2 separate regions of the Homo sapiens genome follow, and region 1 is linked to region 2. The links are contacts of gene promoters, found by promoter capture Hi-C in blood cells and fetal thymus (Javierre and others, 2016). All regions are on one chromosome and are shown on one strand. Each heading gives the region's core, a stretch centred on a gene start or on the middle of the fragment in contact. The rest is flanking DNA. Distances are from core to core; before and after follow the strand shown.

Region 1 (4,959 bases), core at 1,587-4,086, 110 kb after region 2:
CAGCCCCCATTAGTGTCAGTAATTGCCAATCAATTTCCTGGGAGCCTGGTGAGGAAGAGGCCCCTGGGTACCTCCAGTGAGGAAGCCACATCTAATGGCTTTTATTTGGATTACTACAAATTGATGATTTTTTTTTTTTTTAATGGAGCTTTGGTTTTCCTCTCCGTGTCTTAACCACCCCCTCAGGGCCAGTTAGACCAAAAGATGAGTGATGGCATGACTTTCTTCTCTGGAAGAGCCGAGACCAGCCTGGTCATACCCACACCACTCATGTATCCTCCATGCTGAAGACAGGCACTTCCTGAAGCCATAGCTACAGCTCCCATTTCTCCAGCAGTAACCCCACCCCAGACCCTCCCCAAGGTTATCAGGTTGAAACTGCAAAACAACCCTGTTGAGATATATCTCACCATCCCCAGGAAAAGGGGAGGCAGGCTCAGAAAGGTGGTGAGACCTAGCTAAGATCACACGGTTAATAAATGGTAAAGTTGAGATTTGAACCCAGGTCTTTCTGGCATTGAAGCCTCGGTGTTCCCATTCTTACATGTGTCATCCCACGTATAACAGAGAGTGAAGATGGTTCCCCTGAAAGCCAGAGAGCAACAGGAGTGACAGCTTTCATGGGGCTCCTAGGGCAGAGATTAGCTGATGAGAATAATAATAATGATAGCTGTAACAATAGCAGCTATTGCTGAGCGCGGTGGCTCACGCCTGTAATCCCAGCACTTTGGGAGGCTGAGGCAGGAGGATCACTTGAGCCCAGGAGTTTGAGACCAGCCTGGGCAACATAGTGAGACCCCATCTCTACACAAAATACAAAAAAATTAGCCGGGTGTGGTGGTGTGTGCCTATGGTCCCAACTACTCAGGAGGCTGAGGTGGGAGGATCACTTGAGCCCAGGAGGTTGAGGCTGCAGTGAGTCATGATTGCACCACTGCACTCCATGCACTCCAGCCGGGGTGACAGAGTGAGAGCTTGTCTCAAAAAAAAGAAAAAAAATTAGCAACTATTATTTACTGAGCCCTTAATTATGAAACACAGACTATGCCAATGGGTTTACATAAATGTTTTATTTTCTCCTTGGAACTACACCAAGAAGTATTTGTTATTATAACCATTTCACAGATAGAGAAACCAAGACTTAGAGGTTAAGTGACTTGCATAAGATCGCTCAGATTATTGGTGCTAGTAGAACTAGGACTCAAACTAAGTATGTTTGAATCCACGGCATGCACTTTTAACCATTTGCATCAGTTTGGATTATGAGTAACAGAAAATAAAAATAATGGTGGCTTAAACAAGATTGGAGTTTATTCTTCCCTCAAGTAAATGAAATCCAGAAGTAGGCAGCTGGTACAGCTCCATAATCGTGAAGGACTCAGGTTCCTGTCTTGGTCCCAAGATCTAAGCTGGCTGCTAACCCTCCAACCATCGCATCCACATTCCAGCCAGGAGGAAAGAGGAAGCGGTAAAGATAGACACGCATGCTTCTTTTAAGGACAATTCCCAGAAATTGCAGCTACCATTTCTGCTAACATCTCATCAGCCAGAACGAAATCACATGACTATACTACCCAGATGCAAGACAGTCAGGAAGCATAAGCTTGATTCTGGAATGCCATGTGCCCAGCTAAAAAGTAGAGCCTATTGTTAAGGAATAAGGAGAGGTCAGATATTGGGACAATCATCAGTGACTTCCATCAGCATTATTCTAATGCTGATGTTTAGATGGAAATTTACAGTGCAGTCTAGTAAGTCATCAAATCCAGCTTTCTGGTATCCCAGAAAAGGAACCTGAAGCCCAAAGAGAGGAAGGCACTCACCCAGAATTGAACAAAAAATGGGGGCAGAATCATGTTCGGAAGCCTGTCTCAGTAATCACAAAACCTGAGTTATTGGCACAAGAAATGCCCTCTGTCCCTCCTACATTCTGGGACATTTCTTCTGGTTCTTGGATTGTTCCTCTCACTTTCCCATTTTCCTCTCTCCCTTGTCTGGGCCTTAGGGTAGTTGCCCTTTGGGGCTTCTGTTAACCTTTGGATTGAGTAACAGAGGATCTGATTCTGTTCCCAACATGGATACAAAAGATGTCTGACCTTGGCCTTTAGCATTCTGGTCTGAGGATCTTAAAGGTCTTTCCTGCTCGGACAGTCAGTTTACGAGATACTCTGAAGCTAGGGGTGGTTTTTGCTTAGTGAATGTGGTTACTGGTACCAATAGATCCATATATTCCTCAGCATATGAGGCTCCGGTGGTGGTACTTGTGGAAGGGGCAATGGATAAGGGAGAAAAAAAACTAAGGTCCTTGGATGATGCTGGGAGGAAAGAATAATCTTTATTAGACATCTACTATGTACCAATTACAGTGCTACAATAAATGTAAGTAAGTATCTCCTTATTGCTAGACAATGGCTCTTAGATAGGGTTAAAAAATAGAGTAAGTCCAGCTATGTGATCTTTTGAAAGGACACATCTAAAGCAAAATGGAGAAGGGTCAAAGGTGAAGGGATGAGCCGGGCTCAGTGGCTTATACCTGTAATCCCAACACTTTGGGAGGCCAAGGCAGGAGGATCACTTGAGGCCAGGAGTTTGAGACCAGCCTGGGCAACATGGCGAAACCCCATCTCTATTTTTTAATTTAAAAAAAAAAGGAAAGTGATGGAAAAGACCTACCAAACAATGCTAAAAATAAATTTAAAATGAAGATGAGAAAAGAAAACAAAAGTGGCAATGTTAATATAATGCATATTTCACAGTTGAGGCTCAGAATGATAAAGTAACTCACCTGAAGTCATCTAGCCCCTAACTGGCAGAGGTGTGATTTGAAGCCAGGTCTTTCTGTCTCTTAAATTCCTTCTTCCTTGGGAATGTCTGGTTGCCTCCAGTGAAGTTGGCCAGCATTGTGACCTTGCCCTGATGGGATACGGGTCTGGAGCCACCATCACAGAGCAGGCTGGAGCAGGCAAAAGTGAAAGGAAGGCCCTGTTGGCCAAAGGGACCAGTCCTGGGTCAGGACATGCACTGGCATCTGGGCCAGAGCCTGGACCAACTCTCAGAGAGCCAGCCATGTGCTGCTATGGCCTGCCGTCCAGTTTCAGGCCCAGTGCCCACAGGGGTCTCCACTCCCTGCCTTCCAATCCCTAGTCTCAGGCAGAGGCTGAGATGATAGAGGACCCGTCCCACAGAGCCACATGGCTAAGGTTCATGCCTGGAATGTAGTTCCCTCTGCGTGGCAGAGAACAGCAGGCCTGAGGCCTCCAGGAGACAGTTTGGCTGTGGTTCGGCTGAGCCCTAAGCTAGGAGCCACTGAGACCTACATATACCCTATCCATTCCCAGAGCAAGGGCAACAGTGGGGCCAGAGGCAGGTCCTCATTGTTTCTTAGGAAGAGCCAGACAGGAGACCTGGGTCCAAGTTAGCTCTGCCACATCCCCTGCACACATCAGGCTCCAGTCATCCCAGATGGACCCACCACGGCTCCCAAAAAGCACCCTCAACTGCCTCGCTCCTCTAAGTTTTGCACACGAAACACAACGTGCAAATGGCGGTTAGCTGGCCTATGTAGCTAACCTGGCCCATCCTTCATAACTCAACTTGGGTATCACCTCCTCCAGGAAGCCTTCGCTGACTCCTCTTCAAGTCTGTATTATAATGTATAGAACACTGGGTTTGGCTTTCTCTTTACTTGTGTGTCTCTTCAGCCAGTGCCCTGTATCTTGAACTAATGTGTGGATGGCCTTTAAGGAGGTTTGTGAACCTCCTTTGTGAAATTGTTCACAAAATGCTTCCTGTGTGTATATATGTGCATTTGAGTGGGCAGCAGTAATAACTTTCATCAGATTGTTTTGAGAATTACCACTCTAGACTGTGATGCTCATACAGTTAGGAACTGTGTCTGTCACTGTCTCCTCAAGTGATATATAATAATAGAAGTAGGTGATATAATAAATATTAATTAAATGAACATTGGATGAATAATTTGCGGGGTGACCTTAGGCAAGTAACTTCACCTCTTTCAATCTTGATTTTCTCATCTATAAAATGGGAACAAAAGTGAGGATTCCACTATCTAAGCTTTTCCTCATCTCTGTTTTCCTTCTCTACCCCAGCACCTAGCATAGTGCCTGGCACATAGTAGGTGTTCATAGATATGTATGAGAGGAATGGAAAGATGAGCGATTGGTAGGCAGGTGGAAGAATCAGTGTTTAGATGAATGAATGACAGTGAGCGAGTGAGTGGCTGCTATCCACTATGTGGAGAGAAGACCCAGTGGATGTGTTGGTAGGTTCACTGGCTGGACAGGTAAAACAGTGCCTAGGAAGATAGGTTGATGGATGGGTGGAGAGAGTGAGTGGACATATTCATGCTAAATAAATGGCTAGATGAATGGCTCAGCAAAGGGAAACTTAAGTATTTGGGAGGGGCTGGATAGGTAGGTAGGTTTTTTATAAAATCATCAGTGGATGGGAGAAAATGATGAATACATGGATCATAGATGGATTTGTGAATGCATGTGTAGATATATGATTGGATAGATGGATGGAAGGAAGGAAGGTCTAACTGATGGATGGGGGAAGGAAGGGAGGGAGGGAAGAAGGAAGGAAGGAAAGAAAGAAAGAAGGAAAGAAAGAAGAAAAGAAGAAGAAAGGCCTCCATCCAACTCAGGCCAGTGAGTAGGAAGGCAGAGACAGAGAGTTTCCTGTGAACAAGGCTGGCTTACAGAGCAGGTAAGCCACCTTCCAGAGCTGTTGTGTATTGGGCCCCAGCTGCGCTCTTCCTTTCCATGGGTCCAGGGTCTCTCTGGCGGTGCCAATATTCAGAAACTGGTATAGGATGGAGACAAAGGGAGTAGGCAGATACCAGGGCCAGAAGGAGGGAGGGAAGACGGGTGGAGGCTGGGCCTGCCATTGGGCAGCCGCCCCTGTTTACTCAGCTCCAGAATGAAGCCCCGGAGAAGG
Region 2 (5,492 bases), core at 1,285-3,784:
GCGAATGTCAATTAAGCTCTTGGTGGGGGCTGGGGTGAGGCTGAATCCAAGTCTTTAGAGCCAAGAAGGCAACCAGGTGGAGTGCACAGCTGGGACAAAAGCACAGCTAAAGGCGGTTGCCAAGAAATCAGGGAGGAGAGCCTGGCCAGACTGCAGAACCCAGCCACCCCAAATGGGGAATAAAATACTGTTTAGAGAGAAGAGGATGTGAGAGAAGGGGAACTTAATTATGATCAGTAATTTTCTATTTTTGCCAGGTAAAGGCCCTGGATAGATGTCTATTTCATCAGATAACGTTGGGTGAGTCACTTTCCTTTTTAGGCCTCAGTTTCCTTATCTGTGAAATAGCCTGTGGGAAGAGCCCTGAGCTCTGTGCTTCTGTGAAAGGTACAAGGAGGTCAGCACTGGGGTCGGACGGACATGGGGTTGAATCCTAGCCCAATTTGCCATGTGACTTTGGACAAATTACTTATCTGGTCCTCAGTTTCATCATGTGAAAAGATCAGCACCTGGTGCACAGAGTAGGAAAGATTAAGGGGGACAAGAAATAAACAAAGCCCAGCCTAGTGCCTGGTACCATGTCCTCAATAAAGCAGAGTCACTGGTCTTCCTATTTTGAGACAAAAAGGAAGTAACCACTGGCCCTGGGTAGGTGGAGTCAAGGGTCCCAGGAAATAGAAACAAAGCAAAAAAGCTGAATCTGCACAGTACATAATAGGTGCTCAATAATGACTTCTTGAATTTGGAAGTGTCTAGCACCTGGATGCACTGGAGGGGGCCAGAGCTTAGAGCTGCTCTGTCCAGGAGAGGGAGGATTGCCTCAAGATGGGCCAAGCTTGGGGTCCCTCAAACCCTGGGTCTCCTGGAAGGTCTGACAGGCAAGAACTGAAAATAAAGGCTAGCCCCACCCCAGTGGATCTTGACCCTGGTGAGGGGTCTGTAGACTTAAAAGGGGGAATCTTCGTTTCTCCTCTCTCCCTGCTCACTCAAATAGGAACGGTAGTGGCTCTGCCAGCCCCACCCCACTGGCTCTTGACCCTGGTGAGGGGTCTGTAGGCTTAATAGGGGGAAATCTCCTGTTTCTCTTCTCTCCCTGCTCACTCCTGTTCTGTCTCCCTCCCAGGCTGCCTCCTCCTGGTGGCCTTCCAGGATGACACCCATTTCAACTGGACTCTTGGAGCTTCAAGAGACGACCCAACTTTCCAAACCTTAGATGGATTCCCAAAGCCTGTGGTACCCCATTTTCTTGGTATGGACTGAAGGGGAGGGATTGCTGGGACATTTTGATAGTATGTGGGACAAAGGGACACAGGAGATGTGGGTAGCATAGACTTAAACTGCCTTCGACTTAAACCACCTGCTCCTGCACTGGGCTCCTCCACTCACTCCACAGAGTTCCGAGCTCCTGATGAAGTCTCCTCAGTCAGGAGTGGGCTCCCAACTGCCAGGGGTTCAGCCTGGGTGATTGCCGCAGGCCCCCTGCAGCCGCCCACCATCCAGACTTCAGTAAAGTCTGTTAATGATGATGGTGATGAAGGCTGTCAGAGCAGGGCAGGGCCCACAGGGTTGGGGCTAGGGTTGTGTTCTCCCTGAAGGGACGGCCATGCACAAAACCACGGCTGCACAGACAGGTCCATTCCACAGCGTGGGGGTGGCTGGGGCTTTCCCCAGATTCACCCATGGACTTCCTTCACCCCATCCCCAAACTGCACTGGGAGCAAGATCAACAGAGAAGGAGAAATCTAATACAGACATAGACGAGTCTGCAGTGAGGGGCTCGCGGGCCAGCTCAGAACAACGGGGCAGGGAGGGGAGGCCTGGGGTCTGCCTGCAAGGGCCCAGCCCACCAGTGCCGAGTGACCACCCTCCCCCCAGCCCCACCCCAGGCCCTCGGGTAGCGCCAAGGCCCAGTCTCCCACTCGGAGGCCCCGGCCCAGCCCCGGTGCCTGGGAAAGCCGCCTGTTTTGTTCCCAGATGCCACCCCCCCACACACACCCTTTTTTTTTTTTTTCCATTCATTGCAGTTCGGTCCCTTTCGAAGCCGCAGGGACCCGGGTGGCAGGGCTGAGGCGAGGGGGTGGGACTCCCTGCCCTGACAGGTAGTGCCGGCCCCCGCTTTGGGAAGCCCCTTCCCCCGCCCTCCCCTCCGTCCGCTCTCCCTGCCCCTGTCAGCCGCGCCAGACGCTCTCCGGCTTTGCAGCATTCAATAAAAATTGAGAAACATTTGGGCTGAAATCGCTGCTTTATCTGGAGGAGCCACAGCGCCGGGAGAGACCACTGCTGCGCGGGGGGAGCCCGGGGTCTCAGTGGCCCGGGCACGCGGGGTCGCCGCGCTCCAGCGCCCGCGCTGCCCCCGGGTGACCCTACGGGCGCGGTGTGGGGACCCGGGCTCGCGGCGGCGCGCGGCCGCCGGGGGCCGGGACGCGCGCGGGGGGCGGTGGCCTGGCGAGGCTCCCCCCGCGCCCGCGGCTCAGGTGGGCCGTGCCCAGCGCTGGCGGAGCCCGGGTCCCCGTTCTGCCCGGGCTGGATGGCTCATTCTGCTGGCTGCGCGGTGGCGGCGGCTGTGTGTGCGCCGCGCCTTGCCGCCCCCCCTGGCCCCCCGAGCCCGGGGCGCGCGCTCCCGCCCGGGCCGTCCGGGCCCCGCGGCGCCGCGGCCCGAGGCCCCGGGAAGCGCAGCCATGGCTCTGCGGAGGCTGGGGGCCGCGCTGCTGCTGCTGCCGCTGCTCGCCGCCGTGGAAGGTGAGCGAGCGGGCGGGCGGGCGGGCGATGGGGGCGGGGAGCGGCCGGGCACGGGCGGCCGCCGGCGCCCACCTCCGCTCCGCGGCCCGCAAAGTTTGCCCGGGGGCCGGCGCCGGGCGCAGGTGGCCGCGGGGAGGTGTGTCCGGCCGCGCCGGGAGGAGCGGGCCCCGCGGGCGCCCGGGGAGCGGCGGGCGCTGATTGACTGTGCCAGGAGGAGGCGAAGGGACCATCTTGCCGAGGCTTTGTAGCCAGCCCGGCGAGCGCCGCCCAGGGCTGGGGGCTGCCCACGCGCGCTCGCCGCCCCCGGCTCGGGCAGCCGCCTCGCGCCGGCCTGGTCTTGCTCCGCACAGGGTGGAGGGGCGCGGGCCCGGCCGTGGCGGGGGGCGGGGGGGGCGCCGGCGCTCGGTCGGGGCTGGAAAGTTTGGCAGGGAGCAGAGGGAGGGAGGCACCGCGGCCGGCCGGGGTGGGGGCTCCCGGCCCGCGCCCCCGAGATGGGGCCCGGCGCCCCGGAGAGCAGGGACTGGCAGAGTGGAAGGGAGCGCGCCAGCCCCCGCGTCGGTGCCTGCCCATCGCCCGCGGCGTACAATGGGGTCCCCTCCCCGAGAGGACTGCGCGGGGGATGGGTCTGTGGGCATCTCTCCGCCGCGCAAGGTCTCCGGGCACCCCCGCCGGCCACCGCCCCGCGGCCGCGGCGCTCAGCGTGGCGGCTGGAGCCCCGGGAACTCTCCAGCTGCCGCCGGGGCCGGACCAGATGCTCTTGCCATGTGTTGGCCTTGGCCAGGGTCGCGGGCCCTCTCCCCGTGGCCTCGTGTATTGGTACCACTCGACCCCCAGGGGGGCAAGGGTAGTTGCTAGGTCTCCCGAGCCAGCTTGCTCTGGAGGGAAAGTTAGTGCGGTCTGGGTGTGTCCACCAGGAATGGCCGAGCTTGCAGGGCAAGAAGCGAACGTGAATAATGGTTCTCACGTGTACTGCACTTTACAGTTTTCAAACCACTTTACAGTTTATGAAGTACTTCGCACTATACGCAGCTCTCTGTGGTTTACAACGTGCTGCACAGTTGACAAGGTACTTTAAGCTTTACAAAGTGCTTTCCCGCCCACCAGCGTGTTGGATCCCTCAAAATACACCTTCCGGGGAAGACAGGTAGGTATGATTCCTACTTCTCTTGAACAGATAGGGAAACCGAGGTTCTGAAAAGTCCGATGTCTCACCCAGGGCCGTTGGGTGACAAAAATAGAACCCAGGTCTGTGGTCTTTCTTTGAAACCAGCACTCACTTAGCTGGGTTTTGTTGCCCCTAAACTGCGTGAGCCCTTCCAGGGTTCTGCTCCCTTGGGCTTAGGGATGATGTCTGTGTGCACCTCTCAGGCCACTTTAGGGTTGTGGGGCGCCCCTTCCCTTCTTGCAGCCTAAGAAAAAACGCATATCAGACCAGACGTGGGGGCTGCGGCCTCTGGGAAAGGCGTCGTGGGGGACCCTGTGCTACAACTTCAGTTTCTCTTTCGGTAATGAGCACTTTAGTGACCGCAGTCAGGGGGTGGGGGGTGTCCCTGGATGGCAGCCACAGTTTCTGGCACTGAGGCAGCTGTCCTTCGGCTCCTGGGGGATTTGGCGGCTGACTGCGGTTTCCCGGAGTGGGGCCACTGGGGCACCTAGGGTGCCACGGGCCCTGGGTGTGGAGGGCAGCCCTGGGGCCTGGCTGCTGGCGGGAGCTCTGTGGAATATGGCTGAGGTACCACTTATTAACTCTGGCTTTGGGGAAATGACTCATGCGTTGGCCCGCTATACATTGGGATGTTTACAGTATTATGGGGAGCTTGGCATAAATATTGCTATTTAGGTTGCAGTCAGCGGTGCTGGAGGGGAAGAAAATTGGCCCCTCTCTCGTTGGAAGAGGCCTGGGTGTGTTTTTAATTACTCTGGGGTAGATGGAAGGGCCACATCTGTCCAGCCATCGCCCTGGCAGAGGCTGGTTGGAATCTGGTGGGCTGTGGCCAGCCTGGACCCTGGCCCTGGACACAGGGCTGGTGGGCGCTGACGTCACAGGAGGGTATGGCTACTTGGACTGCCACTTGGGGGCAGGGTGGGGAAGGGAAGCCACAGCAGGGTGGGAGGAGGGCTGCAGCAGGCACCCCAATGCTTGCCTCAGGCTCTTGTTCCGTTTGCCCCCTGGACACTAGGAAGTTAGTCCATCAGTGGTTAATAAGGAGCTGGCCGAATGGATGGGGAGATGGTGTGAGGTGGAGGTCAGAGGGCCTGCTTCTCATTTACTATGGGACCCTGGGCCAGGTCCCTTCCCTGTGGGGGCCTCAGTTTCTCTGGGTGTAAAATGGCCTGGCTAAATATCTTGTAGAGTCCATCGTCTACGCCCTACTTCCCCTCTTTGAGCCTCGTTTTCCTCCCCCGTCTAGTGAGAGTGATGACAGCGCCTGTCCTGCCTGTCTCCTGGGGTGTTTGTGAGGATCAGACCAGATGATGGGTGGGAGAAGTCCCCCTTCAAAGCCAGGGATGGACGGTGCTGCCTGTGCACATTTGGGGGGCGGTGCTGCCTGTGCACATTTGGGAGACACCAGGGTCCTCCTGAGGGTGACACAGTCTGTGGAGACAGGACTGGGCCGTGGAGCAGTAGGAGGGTGGCCCCTCTGGCTCCCAGAACCCAGAGCCACATGGCTACCACTTCCTTCCCTTCCTCCTTCCTTGTCTCCTCAGCCCGTAAAGGGCTGTCCTGCCGGTTAAGTCCCCAGGAAATCCCC

What was found. The method cuts DNA at HindIII sites, captures the fragments that hold promoters and counts their contacts. A CHiCAGO score of 5 or more calls a contact.
Region 1: a contact is called between a fragment that was not itself captured here and the fragment with the promoter of EPHB2 in region 2, in 3 of 17 cell types (endothelial precursors, M0 macrophages and M1 macrophages). The highest score is 8.3, in endothelial precursors.

Annotation. Positions count from the first base shown.
Region 1 is chr1:22,819,690-22,824,648 of GRCh38, forward strand. The region is part of intron 3 of EPHB2 (EPH receptor B2); the gene reads left to right. Among named protein-coding and RNA genes, the nearest start is that of MIR4253, 41 kb to the right of the region's middle. The HindIII fragment of the contact is 2,471 bases long and covers 1,602-4,072 here.
Region 2 is chr1:22,708,305-22,713,796 of GRCh38, forward strand. It overlaps EPHB2 (EPH receptor B2), which reads left to right and starts at 2,535. Exons shown (of 16, transcript NM_017449.5): 1 at 2,535-2,739. The coding sequence starts at 2,679. RefSeq lists a silencer at 1,222-1,507 and an enhancer at 3,729-3,828. The HindIII fragment of the contact is 2,980 bases long and covers 834-3,813 here.